Regions from separate parts of the Homo sapiens genome. Here all the other regions are linked to region 2. Evidence: promoter capture Hi-C in 16 types of primary human blood cells and fetal thymus (Javierre and others, 2016). All regions are on one chromosome and are shown on one strand. Each heading gives the region's core, a stretch centred on a gene start or on the middle of the fragment in contact. The rest is flanking DNA. Distances are from core to core; before and after follow the strand shown. Region 1 overlaps LGALSL (galectin like). Region 2 holds the start of PELI1 (pellino E3 ubiquitin protein ligase 1). Region 3 overlaps SERTAD2 (SERTA domain containing 2). Region 4 overlaps LINC01805 (long intergenic non-protein coding RNA 1805). Region 5 has its middle 8.9 kb from the start of LINC01805. Region 6 overlaps AFTPH (aftiphilin).

The links. The method cuts DNA at HindIII sites, captures the fragments that hold promoters and counts their contacts. A CHiCAGO score of 5 or more calls a contact.
Region 1: a contact is called between a fragment that was not itself captured here and the fragment with the promoter of PELI1 in region 2, in 1 of 17 cell types (activated CD4 T cells). The highest score is 5.4, in activated CD4 T cells.
Region 3: a fragment that was not itself captured here is called in contact with the fragment with the promoter of PELI1 in region 2 in 1 of 17 cell types (fetal thymus); the score reaches 7.4 in fetal thymus.
Region 4: a contact is called between a fragment that was not itself captured here and the fragment with the promoter of PELI1 in region 2, in 3 of 17 cell types (activated CD4 T cells, M1 macrophages and M0 macrophages). The highest score is 6.6, in activated CD4 T cells.
Region 5: a fragment that was not itself captured here is called in contact with the fragment with the promoter of PELI1 in region 2 in 1 of 17 cell types (activated CD4 T cells); the score reaches 6.2 in activated CD4 T cells.
Region 6: a fragment that was not itself captured here is called in contact with the fragment with the promoter of PELI1 in region 2 in 1 of 17 cell types (activated CD4 T cells); the score reaches 5.5 in activated CD4 T cells.

Annotation. Positions count from the first base shown.
Region 1 is chr2:64,457,772-64,461,460 of GRCh38, reverse strand. It overlaps LGALSL (galectin like), which reads right to left. Exons shown (of 5, transcript NM_014181.3): 5 at 80-3,176. The coding sequence ends at 3,033. Among named protein-coding and RNA genes, the nearest start is that of LGALSL-DT, 4.7 kb to the right of the region's middle. The HindIII fragment of the contact is 620 bases long and covers 1,899-2,518 here.
Region 2 is chr2:64,142,469-64,146,285 of GRCh38, reverse strand. It overlaps PELI1 (pellino E3 ubiquitin protein ligase 1), which reads left to right and starts at 1,866. Exons shown (of 7, transcript NM_020651.4): 1 at 1,866-2,205. RefSeq lists silencers at 1,639-1,698, 1,789-1,978, 2,059-2,128, 2,269-2,338, 2,349-2,418. The HindIII fragment of the contact is 6,118 bases long and covers 1-3,331 here.
Region 3 is chr2:64,650,077-64,653,851 of GRCh38, reverse strand. It overlaps SERTAD2 (SERTA domain containing 2), which reads left to right. Exons shown (of 2, transcript NM_014755.3): 1 at 1-232. Among named protein-coding and RNA genes, the nearest start is that of SERTAD2, 1.9 kb to the left of the region's middle. RefSeq lists silencers at 1-125, 1-157, 266-595, 896-975. The HindIII fragment of the contact is 834 bases long and covers 1,283-2,116 here.
Region 4 is chr2:64,495,399-64,498,973 of GRCh38, reverse strand. All of the region lies in intron 2 of LINC01805 (long intergenic non-protein coding RNA 1805), which reads right to left. Among named protein-coding and RNA genes, the nearest start is that of LINC01805, 11 kb to the right of the region's middle. The HindIII fragment of the contact is 265 bases long and covers 1,709-1,973 here.
Region 5 is chr2:64,475,571-64,479,382 of GRCh38, reverse strand. No RefSeq gene overlaps it. Among named protein-coding and RNA genes, the nearest start is that of LINC01805, 8.9 kb to the left of the region's middle. The HindIII fragment of the contact is 5,493 bases long and covers 1-3,812 here.
Region 6 is chr2:64,553,390-64,556,891 of GRCh38, reverse strand. AFTPH (aftiphilin) reads right to left here. Exons shown (of 10, transcript NM_203437.4): 2 at 3,483-3,502. All of the region lies in intron 5 of LOC105374773 (a long non-coding RNA gene), which reads left to right. Among named protein-coding and RNA genes, the nearest start is that of MIR4434, 30 kb to the right of the region's middle. The HindIII fragment of the contact is 2,380 bases long and covers 91-2,470 here.

The DNA of each region.
Region 1 (3,689 bases), core at 959-3,458, 310 kb before region 2:
AATCACTGCTATGCCACGTGGTCTATGCTAAGTACTCTATACCTGGCGCCAAATGTAGCATGTTATAAACTGGAAACTGTTTTGTAGAAAATTCCTTTATTATAGTGCAAATTACTTTCAGCAGTGACATAATGTAACAACACATTTAGCAACATTTTACACCACACAGTAAATAAGAAAGTGTTTCTTTGAAAATATGTCATCATAGGAACATTATTTCTACATTAATGCCAGAAAATGCCAAGGCCGTTTATCTCAAGGCAAACAGGGCTCCCTCCTTCCTTTTGGGTATTTTCTTTTTAACACAAATGAAATGACTTGCCATTTTAACAAATCCTCAATTCTAAAAGTGATCTCTCAGGGGGCTTTGAACTAAGGTCGGCAAGATTTGAAATGGGGCTTCAAAATTTTAAATAATAATTTTAAAATACTTCTGGAATAGCCCAAAAAGTAGAAGTCACTTCTATTAAGTTTTAAGTAGATATACACACTCACTCCAATTTTACTGTAGAAATGGACAGATTGTCTAAAGCCTGCTTTCTATTCCCCCAGAGCCTGATTGTTATTTATACTCCTTGGTTTTGGTTATTGCAGAACTAGGGCTCTGGTCAGAAATAACACCTTACATACCCGAATACTTTCCTGTGGAAGCTTTACATTGCATTTTCCATCCTGAAATTCTCACCTTAGACCTTACAGGCCCAGGAGAGGGTGTGAATATTGTTTTCAGTTTACAGCTAAAGCCCCTTACTAATTTGGGCTATACCTGAATCAAATCATCACATCATTTAGATTAATCCCAATAGGCTTATCCAAGCGGTTCCCACTAACCTCACAGAGAAACAAACAGTTAACATTGTATTTTCACACTAAGCTGCCTAAGGGCTTGGCTGCTAATGAGTTAGCTGATAGGTAGACAGAATAAGCGTGTCAATTCCAATCAGTACACGCCCTGCTCCTCTAGTTTCTGCTGAATTATGCAGTGGGTGGGAATGGTTGGCCACTCAAAACAGTCTTCCTATGGGGCTCTTCCACCATAAGTTGGATCAAAACTCCACAAATGTATTTCAAGGTGCCCTTTAAGTCTCTCAAATTTAGGGACTTTTAAGTGACAAGCCATGAGAAGTTAATCACAGGCTTGAAAATACCTGGAACCACAGAACAGCCCCCACGGAACAGGCTGAATATGGTTAAATAAGTTGGCTGGTACATAAAGCTTTTCAATGTACAGCCAGTCTTGTTGGATACAGTGTCTTCTTATATAATACAATGGAACTGTGCTAAACAGTTTCAAAGTTGAGAAGAATCCAAATGTATCACCTATAAAAAATTCATAATTTTAGTTTATTTTAGACTTTGGTACTGAAACACTGTCTACATTCTTGACACTTGAAAATGACATGGTCACTTCAGTGCCTCTGCATGTTGTGTAAAAAAAAAAAAAAAACTCAAAAAAGGAAAGCAGGACAAGGATGTGTCATTACAAGACACAGTATGCTGTACAAACAAAACCTAAATTATATATAAATACACCCCCACCCCAGAACCCTGTCTTCCCTCACTACCTGATCAAAGCAATGCCAAGGGTCCCTCCCTCCAGGGCCAATGTAGCTTTTAAAGTCCAGAACCCAGGACTTTAAGCATCCCTTGCCTTGCGGTGACGTTTACAGTACTGCAACCTCCTGTTGGAGTCACCTGTTTGATCAGTTCCGTAAGTGCAGGGTAACACCTACAGCTTAATTGGAAGCATTCACTCTACTGGCTGGATTCAAAGACCTGGAGTCCTGGGAGTTAACCTTTCAGATAAACTAACTGGATCATTTCCTAATCTGGATCCTATCTAATCCTACTATCTCCTCAGAGCCAACACAGTAGGAAGCATCTTCTACTCTGAAGCTTCCAAAGGCATTACTTAGGGATATTGGTGAGGGTCACATAAGAAAAGTTATACAATGAGCTAACAGCTTAAGTTGATATAAATTACTTCCAAGTAAGTTATTCAGGGCCGTTTGCTTCTGCTTTACACTGCATTCCACAGTCATTTTCATATTATTCTTTTAAAAGTTTATACTATAGTCACTTTAAAAATTGTCTAAGCAATCACCTCTTTGTGTTTTTGATTAATAACAACTTAATGAGCTATTATATAAATCAAGAGAGAAATAATTAGTCTTAAGGAAGCCAATAATGTGCTAATTCCCAGTAAGGAGAAAAAGCAATGTAAATAGAATTTTACATAACCAACAATAACTTGGAAAGCAGTTTTATCAAAATGGTTTTGCAAAGGTTTCCCAAAAGCACTTACAGCAGTTTATATCAAGAGATCCTAAGTTTAGGGGTATGGAGAATCTCAATTCTTTAAAGCAGAAATTCACCTGTTTCATAATTGTAATATGTAATTTTCTCCCCTTGGACCTAAGATATTTATACATTCAAAAGTTTACAACTTGCTGTTCTTGAGACATTGTTCATTCTTTAATACATACATTGAGTATAAATAAATAACTACAAGAAAGCTTCAACAATCTGAATTAACATTATGCTGTGCAAAACAAAAACAAAAACAAAAACAAAAAACAAAAAAAAAGTCAAACCTTGAACAACCTACATTCTATGTAAATACCCTGACTAAAATATTGGTTGTGCTACACAATTCCACTTTAGTGCAGAAATGCATTGATTTCACTGTACCGTTGTTGTTGGCTTTTTAAGTGTCTTTAGCACTTCTGTTTCTAAGCATTGCCTTGCTTTGAAAAGATGAATAATTTGCTACCAAATCACAAATCATCACAAATCCATTTTAGTTTGGTCTGAATAAAATCCAGCATAAATGTATTATTTTATTCTGGGTATAATGGCTCGGTGTCTTTGTCCCAACAGCTTTCTTCTTAAGGGCAAACCACCCTTAAGTGAAACTTGCCATTTGTTTTTGTTTTCTTTTTAAGTCTCCAGATCTTGCTAGGACACTTCTTCCAGACCAACAGTCAGATAGTTGTGGCACGTGATCCTATTTGAAATAGAGGTGGTTTAAATCAGCCAAGCTTGGTGATCTGGAGGTCTCCATTTATCTTTATGGTGTCAATTGCAGATAACGTTTGAATGCGATGGTAAAAATCAAAAAGTTGGTGTCCATCCACAAACACTCGGAAACGTGGGTGCTCACAAAGAATTTCCACCTGGAAGAAACAAAATAATAATCCACAATTTCAATGAACGCTACTGGGGAAAACAAACAATACTTCATTTTAGAGAAAGAAAGGCAGTATCTTCAGTGGTTCACAAACATCAGAATGCATTGAGACCTGCAGAGGGCTTGTTAGAACACAGATTGTTGGGCTCTACCTCCAAAATTTCTGATTCCTGTGTAGAATGTAAGTGTAAAAGCTTTTTCCTCAAGTAATTTACCATAAAGTTCAATTACTGGTAGTGTGCTATGATGGGTTTATTAAAAGCATTGGCATTCACCATGTAAGGAGGCTCCATATGTGATACTAGTCACATTTATTTTATATTACTAAATTTTATCACCAAGAAGGGCCTATTTCACTTCAGTTTTGCTGTTGGGAGCATTATATTCCTCCTGGCAGTCAGAAGCTGTGGTTACTCACATTCATGAGCTATGCATTAAGGTTCATCACTAAGAAACTATCCTAGCCAAGAGGAGCCCAAGGGGACATCACCATTCTAGA
Region 2 (3,817 bases), core at 617-3,116:
CCTAGGCAATTAGTCACTATGTTCTATATTCTATCCCCTGAATAGTGTCTGATTACCCTCAGTTTTCTCTTCTGCCACTGCCTTACCTTAGTTCAGTCTCTCATGGTTTTTTCCCCTGTAATACTGTAACAGGTCCCATACATACCACACTCCATAGAGTGATCTTTCTAAAATGCCTATCTTATCAAAATTCCATCTGCTTACAATCCTTGTGTGGCTTCCCATTGTTTCCAGGAAAAGGTTCATGTTCCTTAGCATATTGTGCAAGATTCTTCATTACCTAAGCTGTCTCCCTTACCTTTTTCAGTGTCTCCTCTTGCCACTCCCCCAACTCCATTCTACTGCCAGCAATGCAACTATTTGCTGAACCAAAATACGTTTGGGTCTCACACCTTTAGGTATTTGTGCTTGATGCTCTCCCCAACACCACCCCCAATGCTCTCACCCACCTCTCTCTTCCTCCTCCCCTACCAAAATACACAAACATGTTAATTCCTAGTTATCTCAAGTGATCTTTGAAGCATTTCCTGATTTTGCCCACATCTGTGGGTAGCTTTGCATTTTCCTATTGTAGTACTTCTCAAATTAAGTCTATTTACCTGTCTCCTCCTTTGCATAGTAAGCACTCTGAAAATAAGAATGTTTCTTTTACATTTTTGTATCTCTATTTCTGGGGCTCAAAACAGTGCCTAGCACAAGTAGACACTCAACAAGCATTTTTTGAATGAGTGTATAATTATATAGTCTGTAGATATAAGGATTTCTGATCTTGAGACTCTCTGAAAGCCTTGCTCCAAAAGTGTGTCTGATTCCTAAGCATTAATCTTTTTCTTCCAGGGTGTGGGGTTCTAGGTAGGTGGAGAAGGAAAACAAAAGCGCTCAGGACGCGTTGCCTTTAGCTCTCCGGAGAGCCAGTAATGTGTCCTGCCTTTCTCCACCCTCCTCCCTACCACCTTTCCACACCTGGGTGCCCAAGATGGGTGTAGACTTAGCTGACCAGCCCAACAACATACTCATACCTTGGTTCAGACTTCTCTTATTACCAAACTAAAGTTGGCCAATACACATAAACAATTTTCAACTTGTCTTTTGAACGTATACTTTATGAAATTTGTATGTCTTAAAAATTGTAGGCCTTAAAATGAACGAACCCGGATTCTTTTATAGTAATCAAGTAAAATATAGGGGTCTTAATTCTGTACTTTGCCTTTGCTAATCTTAAAGTTAGATGTGACTAACTGAGCAAAGTAATTAATTACGGGACTTTGATAGTGGTGATATTCCTAAGTTTTATAACCTAATTGTTCAATTACTGGAAACAACTACATTTCGACAAGTCTTAGGTAAAGAAAATTGAATTTAGCCGGAGAAGATTCAATTGAGGGAAGTGAGGGACAGAGGTATTTGTGATTTAGGGTTTGTGGAAGATAAATTACGCAGCAGGGAAGACTGAAATATGGAGAGAAAGTCAGACCTCACTGGGTACTTATGACTGGTAAGGCTAGGAGTTGGAGGTGGAGAAAAGTAGGAAGGACCGTCTAAGGGTTGGATCCCCAACAACACCATAATACAAGACCGTCCTTGTTCAGCCAACAGCAGCACTGAACACGTTCGCTAAGTGTGTCGGTGACCATGGTAACGGTGGGAGGGGGCGGTCCAAACCTCGCCCTCGAGCATGCTCAGTGCAGAGCGAGCCTGGTAGGGTGCTGGACAACAATGAATCCCTTTTTTCTTCAACCGGAGAACTACAATTCCCAAGAGCCTTCTCGGTGCGGCGACACCGCCTTCCGCTGTGGCCCTGCCCGGTCCCCTCCCTCAGGCCCCGCCCCCCGGCTAGACCCCTCCCCTCCTTGCGAGTGTATGTCAGTGACCCAGAGGCGGTGTGAGGCGGAGGGACCGTCGGGGGGCGCCGCCGCCGCCTCCACTAGCAGCAGCGGCAGCAGCCCTAGTCCCGCGGTGCGGTCGAATTGGTCCCCAGCCCTCCGGGAGCGCACCACAAAGCAGCCCCAACGCCTCTCCCTGCGTCCGCGGCTCCTCAGCGCTCGGCTCCGTGGTCAACTTCCCCTCGCTGGGCTCGGCTGGCGGGCGCGGAGGGCAGCGGCGGAACGGCGGGCTGTCTGCTCGCGCTCCCCGCGCACAACACTTCACCCTCTCGCCTCGGGTCTCGGGGGCCGCTCTGGGATCCCGGCCACCAGCAATTGTCCGGTAAGTGTGACCGCGGGGCGCCGCGGGATGGATGGCGGCGGGGCCGCCGAGGGGCGCGGGGAGGGCGGGCGCGCAACTTCCTCGGCGGCTTCCCCGGCGGCCAGCAGCCGGCTCTCCCCGCCCGCCTGCGCGCCCCCGCTGCGGCGGGGAGCGGAGTTTGCGGCGCCTGCATCCCGCGCCCTGGCTCGAGGAAGCGCCTTTGTCAGGAACCGGCCCTACGCGGCCTCCCCCTCCGCCCGGGAGCGGGGCGCGCGGCGGCCAACTCCGAGCCCCGCGCCTGGCTGGCCGCGCGCTCCGGCTGCGAGAGGGGAGCTCTGCGGGTGGCGGGGAGGAGAGGGAAATGGGAGAAACAAAAGGGGCGGTGGGTTTCCCTTTTGTTTGTGCGGATCTGATAACTTCTTTTCCTCCCTTACATAACGCAGACTTCAAGTTAGTCATTCTTTTTATTGTTATGATTGTTGTCATCATCTCTGCGCGTCTTTCACATTTCCTTTCATCTTTGGATCTCAGAGCATTTTAAACACGCTAATTAATTTCACCCCCGGGTCCCCTAGGAAACAAGTTAATACGCCCGTTTCCCTAAGTGGGTAAACTGAGGTCGTGAAAAGCTCTCAAATTGATGGATACGCTTGATCTTCTACCGCGCCTCGTGTCTGAGTATATGAAAGCGTTTATGAGGAAGAACCCGTTCTCCAAAGCCCCGTGGAAAAGTTAAAGATGCTCATTTTACTTACAGGTTAACTGAAGTCCAAAAGATGTCTAGGTAATTGTTACGTAGTTCAAACCATAATTCTTCTTACATAGTGTTTGAATCTTAAAACCTCTAAAGACTTAGTGAAAAATGCTCCGAGTAGGGAAATTAATGTAAATCATAAACTCACGTCACCATCTACTTTTATTTTTGTACGTGCAGGTCTGTTAGAGGCAAGAGAGCAAGAAGGGGACAGAGGGCAGAGGTTTTTTAAAAATGTACATTTAACAGATTTTAATCACTACACACAAGGAAATGTGCCTTGGTTTTAACAGCACCAACAATATTCCTGTCGTTTAGTCATCAAACAGTATATCAACAAATGTTATTGAGAACTTTATTCATAAGGTGCTGGTTGTGCTAAAAACTGAAGCTTTATATATAAGAAAAGGTCATCTGTTTCGGTTCACAGGCTCTTTACTTTTTCTTACTCTGCAAAATGTTACTTTGTTTTCATTGCACATGATCTTTTGTTTCAGAAATGGCATTGTCCTTTACTGTGTCGAATATGTATTACTCTTACACTTAAGGATAAATGAATTTATTATTAAGTTTTCATAATAGGGTGAATTTAAAATATTTTAATTGTGGTAAAGGTTCACTTTATTCAGTTCTGTTTCAGTTTACGATGCGTTTTCTTTATAGCCAACAAAATATTTTCTGAGTGATAAGATTTACATGTCTCAAAACATTGTTCTTAGTGTACAAATACAGCATATGAATTCCTTGTTTTTTTTATTTATACCAACAACCTCTTCTGGGGAAAAGTCTTTAACTCTGAGGACCTTATTTATTTTGTGAGTTTTTATTTCTTCGGTACCATACTGGAAAGCACCAAAAATTTAAACCAAGCATCACTTC
Region 3 (3,775 bases), core at 450-2,949, 510 kb before region 2:
CCCGCCTCCTGCTTCCTCCTCCGCTGCCTGCCGCCGCCGCCTCCACCATTGTATAATGCTCGGGGCGCGCAGGCAGAGAACGGCGGAGTCTTAGCTTCAGCCTCGCCTGCTGCCCGCTCCCCGGCGCCACCCTCGGGCCCCTGGAGCGGGGCACTCCGCATGGAGCGGGAGTAGCTGAGGAGTGGGCGGAAACCCCTCCTGATGCGTTAGTTCCCAGGTGGAGCTGCATGTGGTAAGTTCTCCCGGCGTCGGGCTGGAGGGGATCCGCGGGCGCGGGGGGCTCCGGGTGGATGGGGGGCCGGTGTTGGGACTCGGCCAGGGCTGGGAGAGCCCGGAGGGCGGAGGAGGGGCCGGGCGCCGCCGCGGGAGGGAGCCGGGGACGGAGCAGGTACGGGAGGAGCGCTCCCTCCCGCGGCCCCGGTCCGGGCCCCGCGCTCTCGGACCCCCGGCGCCTGCGGGCTGAGCCGCTGGGGGGCAGGGCCGGGGTCAGGAGGGGGTCGGGAGCTCGGAGAGCCGAGCGGCGGGCGGGGGCGCCTGGAGCTGTCGCCTCTACAGCTGGGATGTGTGTGCGCGTTGTGGCGGTTGTGTTGTTGTGAACGTGCGAGACTTTTTTTAAGGCTCGGATTGCTGGCGCGAAGGCTGCTTCACTTTTGAGTTCCGTGGCCGGGTTTGCATCCAACTTACTGTAGTGCGTTTTTGTGAATTTCCCGGTGTTTTTTTTAATAATGTTGAAAACCTTCCTCTCCACCCTCTTTTCTTTCGTCCATGCCCAAATGAATTGATTTGGGATCTACATGTATATTAAACTTAACGTCTCGTTGGTTTTTAAGTTAGAAATCTACAAGTCATCTTCGTGGTAACCGCCTATGACTGAAAGGGAGGGGGCTGAGGGGAGCCAGCTGTCCCAAGCCCTAGACTTTGTACCAGTAAGAGAGGGGGTGTCGTCACAGGGCCACTACATGGACAGAAAATCGTATTTTGTTTTGTTTTCTTGGCTATAAGTTACCTTTAGCAGAAGTGGTAGTAATAGATTGCGATGGGAGTCGAGTTTTAGGTTTAGTTTCTAAGTTTCACGAAAATATCAGGTATAGTTTGCATTGGAATAACTTTTTGCTTGCAAGCCGAGTCGTTTCAGGAGGTAGAAAGTAAGTTTTCACAGACACTGAATGGGGAGGACAGTCAGCAGAGTGAGACAGCCAGCCTCAGACCACAGCAGTTTTTATTTGAATCGAATTGGGCAGCCTCAGTTGGGCTTAGGGTAGAGAGTACATGTTTTCAAGCTTTGTTCATGAAATACGCTTTTTGATTTCCCAATGTATGTTAAGAAATATCCATAATGTGTGTAAAGAGGCTAGAAGTTGTAGTCACCAGGATTCCTGAGGCCCTAAGTGTTCACAGTAGCTTTTTGTAGTTAGAGACTAGTCCCTGACAAGAGTGAAGTGGGCTTTGGGCTTCGCTCCGCCCCTGAAGGACCGTCCACCTGAGAGCGTCTGGGCTGCTTGGCCGATGGGGGTTGGGGGTAGTTGCTCAGCTCAGCAGAAGGCATGTCTCACCCTGGCAGCTCCCATCCCTCCCCCTTTTTATAGCAGTCTATTCTGATATGAGTGTGCTAGGGTGTGCTGTGAAGATGAAAATATCCATCCTAAGATCCCAACTTCTGGAGTGAACAAGAATAGTTTGTTTGTGGATCTCTGCTTTTCTGTTTATTTTTTCAGGGTTTTTTTTCTTTTTATTTAAAAGAGACAAATGTTTAAAAGTTTTCCTTTAGCTTCATTGACTTCTTTAGAGGGGTATTATATGTTAATATAAAATTGTTTATGTCGTTCATTAAGTTTGGAATCCTTTAACAGTTTTTTTTTTTTACTTGTTTCACCCCCTAATTAAAATATACATAACCATGTTGTTCTCAGATGAGAAATCTTATTTTGGATTTGACATCCCCCAACCCCCTTTTTCCTTAACACCCGGCCCTTTTCCTTACTTCATTCAGACAGGTAAGGGAGAGGACTCACATTTTGTAAAGCCAACCAAGTGTATGTGTGACAGGAGGTGTCCTAGGGAACGGTTTTATTGTCAGGCGAATGTCACAGCGTCTTAGGTAACAGCTGCTCAAGCTTGTTTCCCTTGAAGAACTAAGAGAAGGATATTAATTCAGATTTAGAAAATCTTTACACTTCTGTTTGCTGAATTGTCCCTCTTTAAAGCTTTTCTATTTAATTGAGAAGCTAAAATATGAATTTTGCCCAGTTGCTACACACTGAATTATTACTGATAATGAGCCTAGTAAAATAGCACATATTTTGATATTTTAAAACTCATTCAAATTTGTGTGGCGACTGATAGCTTATGGTATCTGCTATTTTAAACAGGGTTCCAATGGCAGAGTAAGTTACAACACTACTTTAGAAAGGCACACACATGCATCACACACAAAAAACATTACAAAACGTATGAAGGCAGTTTGAAGATGTTCGAATGCAAATACATAAAAATTTCTATCAACTTGCAGCATGCTACTTTTATTATCAGTGTCCAATTATACTACAAGTTTACCCTCAGACAAAATATTTTACATTTTAGTAACTAAGAAAGGTGAAAGCTGGAACAGAAACTTTGAGAGGTTTCTTTTGCTGTGGTTTCTTGTTAAAAAGCACAGAAAAAAAAGTATGAAGCTTTATTTTATATTTCACATATATCAACAGAATCAAGACCACTTTGTCAATATTACCTGTGGAAAAAGCTATATATAGATAGGCGTATTTGGGGCCATGAACTTTAATTCACTCATAGAATTTTTAAAGCTTCTTGGCAACAGAAATTTTGTATTCACTGTCATGGCATATCCTATAGGAGATAGCTCTAGTTGCAATAGTTACTTGGTGCGTGAGAGAGAGAGCAAGCGCAGGCGCCGTCTCTGATTACTGAGTCCAAAGATCAGTTGTGTACTGAAGGCACCAGAAGGCAAGCTCCAGTTGACATGAAAATGGCCTCACAATAAGGGTGACACCAGCTCTCATAGGTCTTTCTGTTAATTAATACTGACTAGCAAAACATGAAAATCTAAAAGTGCCATGGCCACTTTATATGCACAACTCATATATTTTGTACATATTGTTAATAATTACTCATTAAGCAATTGGTAGAAAGCCACAAGCCAGGACTCCTGTTTAAGAAATGTGTGGCTATTTCATTTAGTTTTAGTATGTTTGAAGGAAATGGCTACTAATCTAGAAAAAATGATTGTCTCAAATGGCCAGTGCAGTTGATATTAAAGGCAAACTTATGCCCTGTGTGCAGATGCTGGGAAACCCTTATGAACAGAACTGTCCCCTGGAGCGTCCGTCACTCATTGTGTGGAGCAGTGTCTTTCTCCATTAGCACTGTGTGGCAGTTCATTCTTTGTATGAATCTGTGAATGGCATATGTCAGCCCAATAAGACGACATTCCTATTCTGAGTAATAAATAGACTCCTTGTTTTGTTTTTTTTTTCTCGGAGATCACGAGACAAACAAAACATGATTGGCTGTCTAAAAATTTTCTTTGAAATACAAATGAAAATTTTAAAGTAAAATATCACAATATATTTTATAATATATGATTTCTAATAGGACAGAACAGATACTGCCAGTTTGAACAAGCACCACATATAGACAGCGCAAACTCTCTTTTGAAAATTCTGCCCTCTTTGTGGTCTGAGGGATCCCAAAGCTGGAAAGACCCATTTGTCTTTTCTCAGAATCCTCTGTCCCTCATCTGAACTTAATGCTAGGATTC
Region 4 (3,575 bases), core at 592-3,091, 350 kb before region 2:
TGAGTTGTCCTGCCCCTTCAGATTGAACCAATGTAAATCTTACATGTATTGATCGATGTATTGTGTCTCCCTAAATTGTATAAAAGCAAGCTGTATCCAGACCACCTTGGGCACATGTCATCAAAGCATCCTGAGGCTGTGTCACAGATGCGTCCTCAGCCTTGGCAAAATAAACTTTCTAAACTAATTGAGACCTGTCTCAGATACTTTTGGGTTCACACATCCTTCCCAAAGAAGTTCTGACCCACTCCATCTTTCATAGATGACTTCTGCACCTAATTTACTGAAAAGATCAAGGGCTCAGCTCTCCTCTCCACTGTCTTAATTTTGCTTGGATCATCATTTATCACTTGCTTTTTCCTTCATTCTTCCTCCCTATTTCCAGAGAAGTCACATGCTATCTTTGTTCTCAAAGCTAACCTTATCTGGGTTTCTTGATTTTACCAGTACTTCTTTGCCTCCACCTCCATCTACCAGTATTTTCCTCCTTCTGGCATGTTCAGGTTGCCATTCTCTAGCTCCTTGAAAATATACCCTAACTTCCCGACTGCAAAAGCCTGAACCATGCATGACACTGCTTCCCTATCAGATTGCTAACCTGTCTTTTTCCTTCCCTTTACAAACAAATTTCTGGCAAGTGGAGGCTATCATGAGCTTCTCCGCTTTCTTTATATGCTTTATACTTGTCAAATCCTGGCAATCTGGAACCATCACACTTTTTAAAAATTAAAACTGGCCTCTTGAGCCAAGCACGGTGGCACACACCCATAGTCCCAGCTGCTTGGGTGGCTAAGGTAGTAGGACTGCTTGAGCCCAGGAGTTTGAGGTTGTCATGAGCTATGATAACACCTGTGAATAGCCACTGCACTCCAGCCCAGGCAACGTAGCAAACCTCATCTGAAAAAAAAGAAAAGGCCGGGCACAGTGGCTCACGCCTGTAATCACAGCATTTTGGAAGGCTGACGTGGGCAGATCATGAGGTCAAGAGATCGAGACCATCCTGGCCAACATGGTGAAATCCGCTCTCTACTAAAAATACAAAAATTAGCTGAGCGTGGTGGTGTGTGCCTGTAGTTGGGAGGCTGAGGCAGGAGAATCGCTTGAACCTGGGAGGCAGAGGGTGCAGTGAGTCAAGATCGTGCCATTGCACTCTAGCCTGGGCAACAGAGTGAGACTCCATCTCAAGAAAACAAACAAACAAATAAACAAAAAACCAACCTGGCCTCTCAAAAGGTGTCACTGAATTCAGTGAACTAATGAACTGTTCAAACCCCAGATCCAAAGACCTCCTCCTGCTGCTCTCTGTAACACTCAACAATTCTGACTGGGCCATGCTTGGAAAAGAGGGACAGTGAGCGAGACTAGGGAATAAGGGCAGATAAGTGAATTAAATGGATTCCAGAAGGGAAGGGAAGTTTTTGCAAGCAGCCATTGAAAAGGTTAAGCTGAGTCAAACACTCCAGGGTCTTGGGCTTTGTTCTTTTTTTGTGGAAGGGGATGGGATAGAGTTGCCTCCTAAGCCCTACTGTCAGAACCAGGGCAGTGGGTCCTGTGTATTCTGGTGGGTTTGGGCACAGCACTGCCTGAGCAGATAATGGCCATGTGGTTTTTGTTTTGGGGAAAGGACTTAGACAGATACTCAGAGCCCACAGAGAGGTTTCTCTTTACTTTATGGACTTAGGCATATTGACAATGCTCACCCCAAGCTTCTCTAAAGAACTCAAGTTATTCCAGATCCAAGACTATACCCAGGGGAAGATAACATTGGATGACCTCTCTTTCTTCAGATTCTTACCGTGGTTTTCATAACAACATACTGTTCCTCCCTCTCTGGCCTTTGTCTCTCACTGGCTCATCTGTTGTTGCATGAGCTGCAAAAGCAGAAACATCCCAAGGTTCCCCTCCAGCGGATTCCTCTTCTCTCAGTGTATCTACCTTTGATTTATCATCCATTCCCATGCTTTCTAAAAGCTTGATGAAGCTGCCTCTTCTACAGTATAACCAAAAGTACACTAGGTTCTAGGAGGCACACTTTATTTTGGATAATTTTGAAAGCTGTGCAAACCTGCATCAAACTGCCCCACACTAACTCACTAATTTGGAAGGGTGGCCACATTCACACATATTAGAAATTACATGATCAGTTCCTACAGAAACAGTAGTGCCCATTCCATAGGTCCCCTGCTGTTGCTACGTTCTTTTGTTGTTCAGCCTACCTCCATGACCTTTAACTTAAGGACAAGTTTCCTAGTCCCATACCAGAGGGCCTATTCGTTTGAGAGGAGCAAGATGCATTAATATGTAATAATAGCTGATGAGGCCATGTTGAAGGAATGATGGCATAAGAAAATTCCATTTGGCTACCACCGCAGTAATAACTGCTTAAGGGAAGAATGACCAATAAAAGCTAAAAGAACAATGAGAAACAGGATATTTATGCCATCTCAAAGTATCTCCCAATAAGATACTTATTTAAAAAGTAAAAACAGTAATTTTCAGTGGGGAAATCTAGCAGATACCACCTCAACCAAGTGATCAAAGGGAACATTAGCATTAACGGGACAAATAGGTATCATGTGCCTCTTGACATGAAGCACCGAGAAGACCACAGCATGGCTTCTGAATATTCCTGAACAAAAACGCATACTTTGAATCGAATCACAAGAAAACATCAGACAAATCCAAACTGAGCATCATTCTACAAAACAATTAGCTTGTACTCTTATAAACATGTTAAGATCATGAAAGACAAGAAAGAAGAATTGTTTCAAATTAAGGGAGATTAAAGAAACATGACAATTAAATGTGACATATGATTCTGAACTGGATCCAGGACCACAAAAAGGACACTAGTGGGCAATTGGCAAAATCTGAATAAAGTTTGTAGATTACACTATTGTTTCAGTATCAATTTCTGGATTTGGCAGTTGTATTACGGTTATGTAAAAGAATGTTCCCGTTTTTAAAAAAATATACACCGAAATATTTAGAGAAAAAGGGACCACATATCTGTAATGTATTTGCAAATATTTCAGAAAAAATTGTGTATTTGTAGAGAGAGAGAATAATAAAGCAAGTGTGATAAAGTATTAACTTTCAGGGAATTTGAAAAGAGTATATGAGAAAGAGTTTTCTCATATAACACTAACTAATATTTCCTTCCAGAGGGAATGCAGTATGGCAGCATTATCTTTGAAACAAATTAAGAAGATTGTAACAAATAACAGACAAATACTTCTACACATATATTTTCCATGGGCAATAAATAGATAAGTATAGAATTATGAAAAATATGCCTCGATGATGCTTTTTAAAATTTCTCAAGGTTCACTGGTTTGTTTTTCTTATTAAAATATACTTCATTATCACTACTATCTGTCCTGGGAAAAACAAACCCTGAGGTTTGAGTTTCCTCCTTTAGCCAATTGAGTGATATCGAGAGAAAACGTGGATTGAGGTCAACCTGTTTGAGTCAACAGAGAGTTCTGTAGTATATCTGTTTATTTTACTAATTTATACATATTCTAGGTCATAATCAAGATACTCATCAAATATTTTCTATCAAAGTTTTATAT
Region 5 (3,812 bases), core at 697-3,196, 330 kb before region 2:
AATGCCTAGGGGAAAAAAGTCCTTACATGCTTGGGGGCTAGAGCCGCACTTTCCGGTGAGGCCCAGAAGAGTCTGCAAATCTTCCAGCCCCATCCCCAGTGTCTCTTTGTGGCTTGAGAGGGTGGCTCACCCACCGCCTTACCATATGATCCATGCCCTCTCCCCCCTAGCAAGGCACCTCCACCAGGGGCCCGGCTTCCTTCAGGCACATGTGCCCACAGGGCATGGGCTCTGGCAGAGGCCAGCAAACCTGGAGGCTGGAAGCTCATTTTCTGAGCTCCAGGAAGGGCGGGGAGGTGTGGGTTCTTTTTGAAACCAGACCTATGTGCTTAGAAACACCACAGAAGGGCTGGGCAGAGCCACTGGGGGTTGGATGGGGTTGCTGTGAATCATAGGAACTCTAGGCTAGAAGAAGCCATCTGAGAGGGGAGGTAGGTTCTTTTGAAGTCTCAAAATCTTTATTTAAAACAGAATCCAAGAACCTTTGATCATGCAGCAAAGTTTATGACATTATATACGTAATAAAGGACAATGAAGCAACATATAATCCTTGTTAATTAAAATGGTCTAAATTACATGTAATCTCTGAATTTACAAAGATAGCACAATGTATGCAATAAATCCTATTTCACAGTCTTTTTTTAGTAACAACAAGGTATTAGAGGGGGTAGGGTTGGTGTTGTAGGTTGTGAGACTTGTGGTAACATTGCTCATCTCTTTCCAATTTTTGCTCTTTCTCTAACCCATTTTTTATTCTTTAATTGACCACACTCATCTTGTTTGCTTTCTGTTCCATTAGCTGAAAACTTATATGGCACTTCCAGGTGAATATGAGAACATCATCTGGAAGTTGAATAAGAAAAAAAATAATTCAGAAAGAGTATCCTTAGACTTTAGAACATAAAACTTTCAGCAATTTTACAAAAATGACCAAACCCAGTGAACCTCAGGAATAAATGAGCAGCCAAGTTCTTCCTTAGCACATTGGAGCCATTCTCCAGAGGCTGTCTCACCTGATGGTTTACCCGGGGCAGCAGGTGGCCCGCGAGGGGCAAAAACAGAAGAGGAAAAGACACAGTCAGGAGAGATTGTGCACTCTTATTTGGAAAGCTGATGTAGTTTTGTAGAGTTGGCAAATTTTTTTCTGTAAAGATCCAGAGAGTAAATAGTTTCGGCTTTGCAGGCCACATGGGCTCTGTCAAAACAATTCAGCTGCTCCATTATAGTATGAAAGCAACATAGACAGTAAGTAAACACATGGGCATGGCTGAGCCTCAGTGAAAACTTTATGTATGAAAACAGGCCATGGGCTGGATTTGGCCCTTAGGCCATTGTTTGTCAGCCCCTGTATTGTTGGCTAAATGACAGTAGGCTAGAGAAAACTAAAAACAGGAGTAGAGGATATGGGGCTGGAAAATGGAGGTAAAGACTGTTCTGTGTTCACTAAACCTCCTTCCCTTTTCCTTTTCCTTCTGGACATGTAGGTAGACTATATGGTTCCAACCTCTCTCATAGGTAGGTGGGGCCATGTAGCTAAGCTCTGAATAGTGGAATATGGGCAGAAATGATATATACTGCTTTCAGGCCCGGCCCCAGAGAAACTGCCCAGGAGACCTCTGAGTTCTCACTCATTCTTCCTATATCTGCAGGCTCGATGCAGAGGATCCAGAGTCCTCTGGTATTAGTCCTAGTCCGCAAACCACCTTAGCGGTGCTAAAAACCCATGCATCTCCTGGTTCTTTCTCCCACACCCCACTACTGCTTGCCATGGCAAATCAGGCAAAATCTTTACCAAGGCAGTAGGGAAAGTCCTACCTGCTTTTAGAGAAGGCCATACTCTTGTTAAATATCAAAAGGCAAGTTATTAATTTATGCTAGAAACAGAAGGATACCTGTTGTGAGTGGATGGAGCAAGTGGATGAAGAGTCAAGGGTGGCTGTTGGACAAGTCCTGCTGACTTGTGCAGAGGACTTCGAGGCCCTGGAAATGACAAAGCCAGTTTGTGGAAGAAACCTGAGTTCCCACATAATAGGATTGAGCTGAACTTTCCTTCCAGCACTACTGGACTTTGACATGAGCTAGACATTAACTTTTTATTTTGTCAAGTCACTGAGAACTGGGGGTTTATTTGTTACAGCAGCCAGCACTACTTATTGTAACCAATATACAACCCAAGTATCAAGTTACTTTGTGCCACAGATCCCCCAGAAAGCCCAGGAATTGGATGTGACATGTACTTTTGAATGTGGGATGAGGTTGGAGTAGAAATTAGCAGAATTGTTTGAATTTTGAGAAAGAAAACCAGTCAGACCCTGAGCTCCTACCCTAACTGCAAAGTCAGGGGACTTTCTTTTTAAAGGAGTTTTCAAATGTCTCATATAAAATTAGCCTATTTGACCGGGTGCAGTGGCTCATGCCTATAATCCCGGAACTTTGGGAGGCTGAGGCGGGCGGATCATCTGATGTCAGGAGCTCGAGACCAGCCTGGCCAACATGGTGAAATCCTGTCTCTACTAAAAATACCAAAATTAGCTGGGTGTAGTGGCGGGCGCCTGTAGTCCCAGTTACTTGGGAGGCTGAGGCAGGAGAATTGCTTGAACCCGGGAGGCGGAGGTTGCAGTGAGTGAAGATCGTACCACCGCACTCCAGCCTGGGTGACAGAGGGAGACTCCATCTAAAAATAAAATAAAACAAGTCTATTTGATTCTCACAGAATTTTTGAAGAAGAGTGTAAGATGGAATTGTTTAGTTATGAAAACAGAGACGATTTAAACTAGCTTGAGCAAAACTGGAGGATTTTTTATAACAATGCAGGGCATTCTCCTGAACTTGAAGATAAGAATGTAGCCCAGTCCTAGATCAGGCCAGGGTCCTGGAAGTGGAAATCCACCAGGTCTGTTTGTCTCTCGGCTCTGCCTCTCTCAGCAAACTGCTTTGTTCTTCTGTAATTCAGATTCCTCAACCAAAGATGGCCAAGCCCAGCAACCAAGGTGTTTTACTTCTTCCTTTTGAAAAACCAGTTCAGAATGAATCTAAGTCTCCTGGTACCCATTCTAAAATCCCAGGAGAGAAAGTCTAGTACAAACATGGCTGCGGAGACCCAACTTAGAGTAAGGTTAGCTCTCAAAAGGGTCAATGTGAGCTGTGCAGACTCCTCATGTAGGCAGGCAGGACAGATAATGTTTTCCTTATTTCACATAAGGAGTGACATAGGAAGAGCAGACACTATTGTTCCCATTTTTTTGTTTTTTTTTTTTTTGGTAGAATGAAAGTGTGGAGTGGAGAGCTTAGTGGATTTGTGAAAGCCACCCAAACTCATCAGCAGGACTTGTCCAACAGCCACCCTTGACTCTTCATCCACTCAAGGATACACAACAGGTATCCTTCTGTTTCTAGCATAAATCAGTAACTTGCCTTTTGATATTTAACAGAGTATAGCCTTCTCTAAAAGCAGGTCAGGCTTTCCCTACTGCCTTGCCAAAGATTTTGCCTGATTTGCCATAGCAAGCAGCAGTGGGGTGTGGGAGAAAGAACCAGGAGATCAGTGGGTTTTTAGCAACACTAAGAAGATTTGTGGACTAGAACTATTTGAAAGCCTCTGATATAACTCACTCCCTGGATTCTAGACTGAAAAAATACCTAACTGGTACAACTGAAAAAATAATTTTAAAAAATCACACAAGTGGTAATAAACAGAAAAGTTCTGGTGAACAGGAATCTCATCTCTCAGTACTGACCCAGCAGAGTGCTTGATACTTAGTAGTTCCTCAATAAACTACCTAGTAGTTACTCAATAAAACTACTACTTGTAA
Region 6 (3,502 bases), core at 31-2,530, 410 kb before region 2:
AAACTTCAGGTTCTCAGAAAAAATTATTCACCGAAGGGACAAGATATCTATTTCTCAATAATGTTCATATATGGCTTTTACATCAAAGCTTGAACCCTCTGAGACTGGCTGGACCCACAGCTGAGAATTAGACTACGAACATTTTTTTAATTTTGCAAGAATTCTTGCTTGACTTTTCGCTACCTAAGTAACAAATTATTGCACTAACCCCAACGAAGACATATTTATTAACATTTTAAGATATCTTTTTGGTGGGCTAAAAACAGGAAAGTGCTAAGAAATGGGGACCTGGACAATGTCACATACCAAATAGTGAAAAGTGGAAGAAATCTGAAATGACCAACTATACCATTTGTCTGACTTCACAAAACAAAGATTTGTTTTCCATGCTTGTTTAATCAAACAAATTAAATCAAATTGCCATGTTTGTTTAATTAAGCTCTGAATTCTAAAACACGTTCTGTCAAAGCAAAATTCGGACAAAACCACTTGATGGCATTTTGTTCAGGACACTTGTGGCATCCGGGTAAGATTGAACAGAAATAAATCATTTCAACTTTTACCACTAAAAAACTTAATGCTTACTGTTATTAATATGTGAGGAGGCTAGGCACGGTGGCTCACGCCTGTAATCCCAGCACTTTGGGAGGCCGAGCCGGGTGGATCACCTGAGGTCAGGAGTTCGAGACCAGCCTGGCCAATATGGTGACACTTCATCTCCAATAAAAGTACAAAAATTAGCCGGGCGTGGTGGCATGGGCCTGTAGTCCCAGCTACTAGGGAGGCTGAGGCAGGAGAACTGCTTGAACCCGGGAGGCGGAGGCTGCAGTGAGCTGAGATCGTGCCACTGCACTCCAGCCTGGGTGACAGAGCAAGATTCTGTCTCCAAAAAAAAAAAAAAAGTGAGGAATTCGTGCTGTTCCAAACACTGTCCGGAGCAACTAGGGAAAACATTTTAAGAAAAATACTAATAAATCTAATCCTCTCCAAAAGGGCTAAATTAATGCACTCTTCTAGCAGAATCTGAAGCCCAAGAAATAAAGTGCCAGCCGCAATTCTCTTTCACAACAGCAGGGTAAGAACGAGAGTCTTTGTTCAATCTTTCTCCACTTCTGACTCAGTCACTTACTCAGCAGGGTTTATCCATTTCACTACTTCAACTTTCTTCCCAAACTTCTTCTGGCCTCCTCCAGCAGTTTCTCTTTCCCAACATCCAAATTCTGTTCATTTTCCATAACCCATTAGCAAAAATAGAAGCATGAGGCCTTAGCCAAACAAATCCAAGAAAGTCTTGTGTGTGTGTGTGTGTGTGTGTGTGTGTGTGTGTGTGTGTGTGACAGTCTCTCTCTGTAGCCTAGCCTGAAATGCAGTGGTGTGATCTCGGCTCACTGCAACCTCCACCTGCTGGGTTCAAGTTATTCTCCTGTCTCAGCCTCCTGAGTAGCTGGGATTACAGATGCACGTCACCACGCCCAGCTAATTTTTGTATTTTTAGTAGAGACAGGGTCTCACCATGTTGGCCAGGCAGGGCTAGAACTCCTGACCTCAAGTGATCCACCCACTTCAGCCTCCCAAAGTGCTGTGATTACAGGCATGAGCCACTGCACCTGGTCTCAGAAACTCTTAATGCATCTTGCCCCATCTATAGTTTGTTTTATTTTTATAAAAAAAAGAATCATACTATAAAATTCTTATTTTCTAGCAGATTATTTCACTCATTTTAAAATTTCCTTTTATATTCACAAAAGTTCTTTGAAGTAGGTATTACCTTCTTTGTATATACAGCTGAATTCAGAAGTAACCTATCCAAAAATCATAAGGCTTTTTAAGAGGCTGGGTCAAAATTCAAACTCAGATCTGTCAGATTCCATGAAGCCCATACGCTTTATTATCTCCTATATCCAGTTATCAAATTATACATAAATAACTTCAATCAACTTGTATGATGCAAGAAATTCCTACTTGAGTGGTCACACTTTAAAAAATTCATTATCTGATGATGTTAAAAGTTCTAAGGCTACAAATTAAAGATCACCCAATACCAGTGTCACCCTATCCTCTAGTGAGATGAAACTAAATAGGGAAAGGGTTAGGTCAAAAGCAACAGTCCTCATTTAGCATCATAATTAGTTCACTTCTTGTTTAAAATGGCAAGGTTCTGCCTAAATAATGAACTGCTCAATAGGAATAATACACATTAGCTAAACCATGTAATAACTGAATTAGCAAATTAAACTACTTTGACACAAAAGCCAACTAAAAAGCGATTAGCTATGCACACCAACTGGTAATACCATAATTTCTCTAATATCTTACTGTCTCAAAGTTATCAAGGCAATGAAATATAAGTATTTCAATTACAAAGACTTTGGAAAGATTTCCAGTTGAAAATGGTTTTCTTAGCAGAAGATAACTGGAGAAATAAAGTTTGTAGATTCTGAGTTTATTAACAGTATATTTAAAATAAGCTTGTGGATCAGGTGTTAGTTACATATATCAATTGTCAGTATAAGGCAGTGAGGTTCAAGGGAGTGCCCTCTTCCACACCCCTGGAGTTGAAAAAAGGTAAAGTTTAGCACAGAGTAGAACTCTGGACTGGGGAACAACCTAGATATCAAGCTACACCTCTAGGGGCTACTTTAGGTCAAAGTGAATCTTAATGAATCTTTTCTGAAAGAGTCTGAATCAAAAAAGGATAATGTATAGGAGGTAAGGGGTAAAAATATTCTCCCTGACACACCTACTCTCTAGGAAGAGCTAACAAGTACATTTGTAAGAAAGTATAGGCAAATAAATACAACTACAATAAGTGAACCTATAGTTATTTCTTATTTTAGGACTAAACCTTAATTCATCTCATACCCTCACCCCAAGTCTTTTAGCAGCTGCTAAATTATGAGGAAAAAGAAAAACTTGCTTTTTTCTAGTTGTTTTTCTGTTCTTCAATTCACTATAGCCTTTGGCACAGAATGAGGTTTCAAATTCTGCTTGTTCTCTCCTGGAATCAAAACCGTACTTGAATTTCCTAGGTCTTTGATGGAAAAAATTAACATTCTATTCTTAAGCTTAAAAAAAAAAAGATCCAAATCTCAGTTTAACCTTCTTTTAAAATCACTGTAAAGGGTAATACTGAAGGATTGACTGGAACCGTCAATTAGGTAATAAGTGTGGGTTTTTTTTTTTTTTTTTAACATATATGGTATTTATAGTCACCAAAAAATCCAAGTTGATGAGTATCTGTAAATATTAACGAAACTCATTGAGATAAAGAAAAATCTTACTGCGCTTTACTATAGGACTATTTGTAGTTTCCCAAAGGGTTGTGAAAAATGTAACCAACCCACAAATCAGACAGGCATTATACATCATAACGAGACTCCTTTAACAAGTACTCAGTTGAAAAAATATTTTTTGAAAAGCTGAAATTAGAAGCCTCCACAACAATTAATACATCATACAAAATAGAGAAAATTAGTAAATACCTGAACTGAAGTGGCTGATT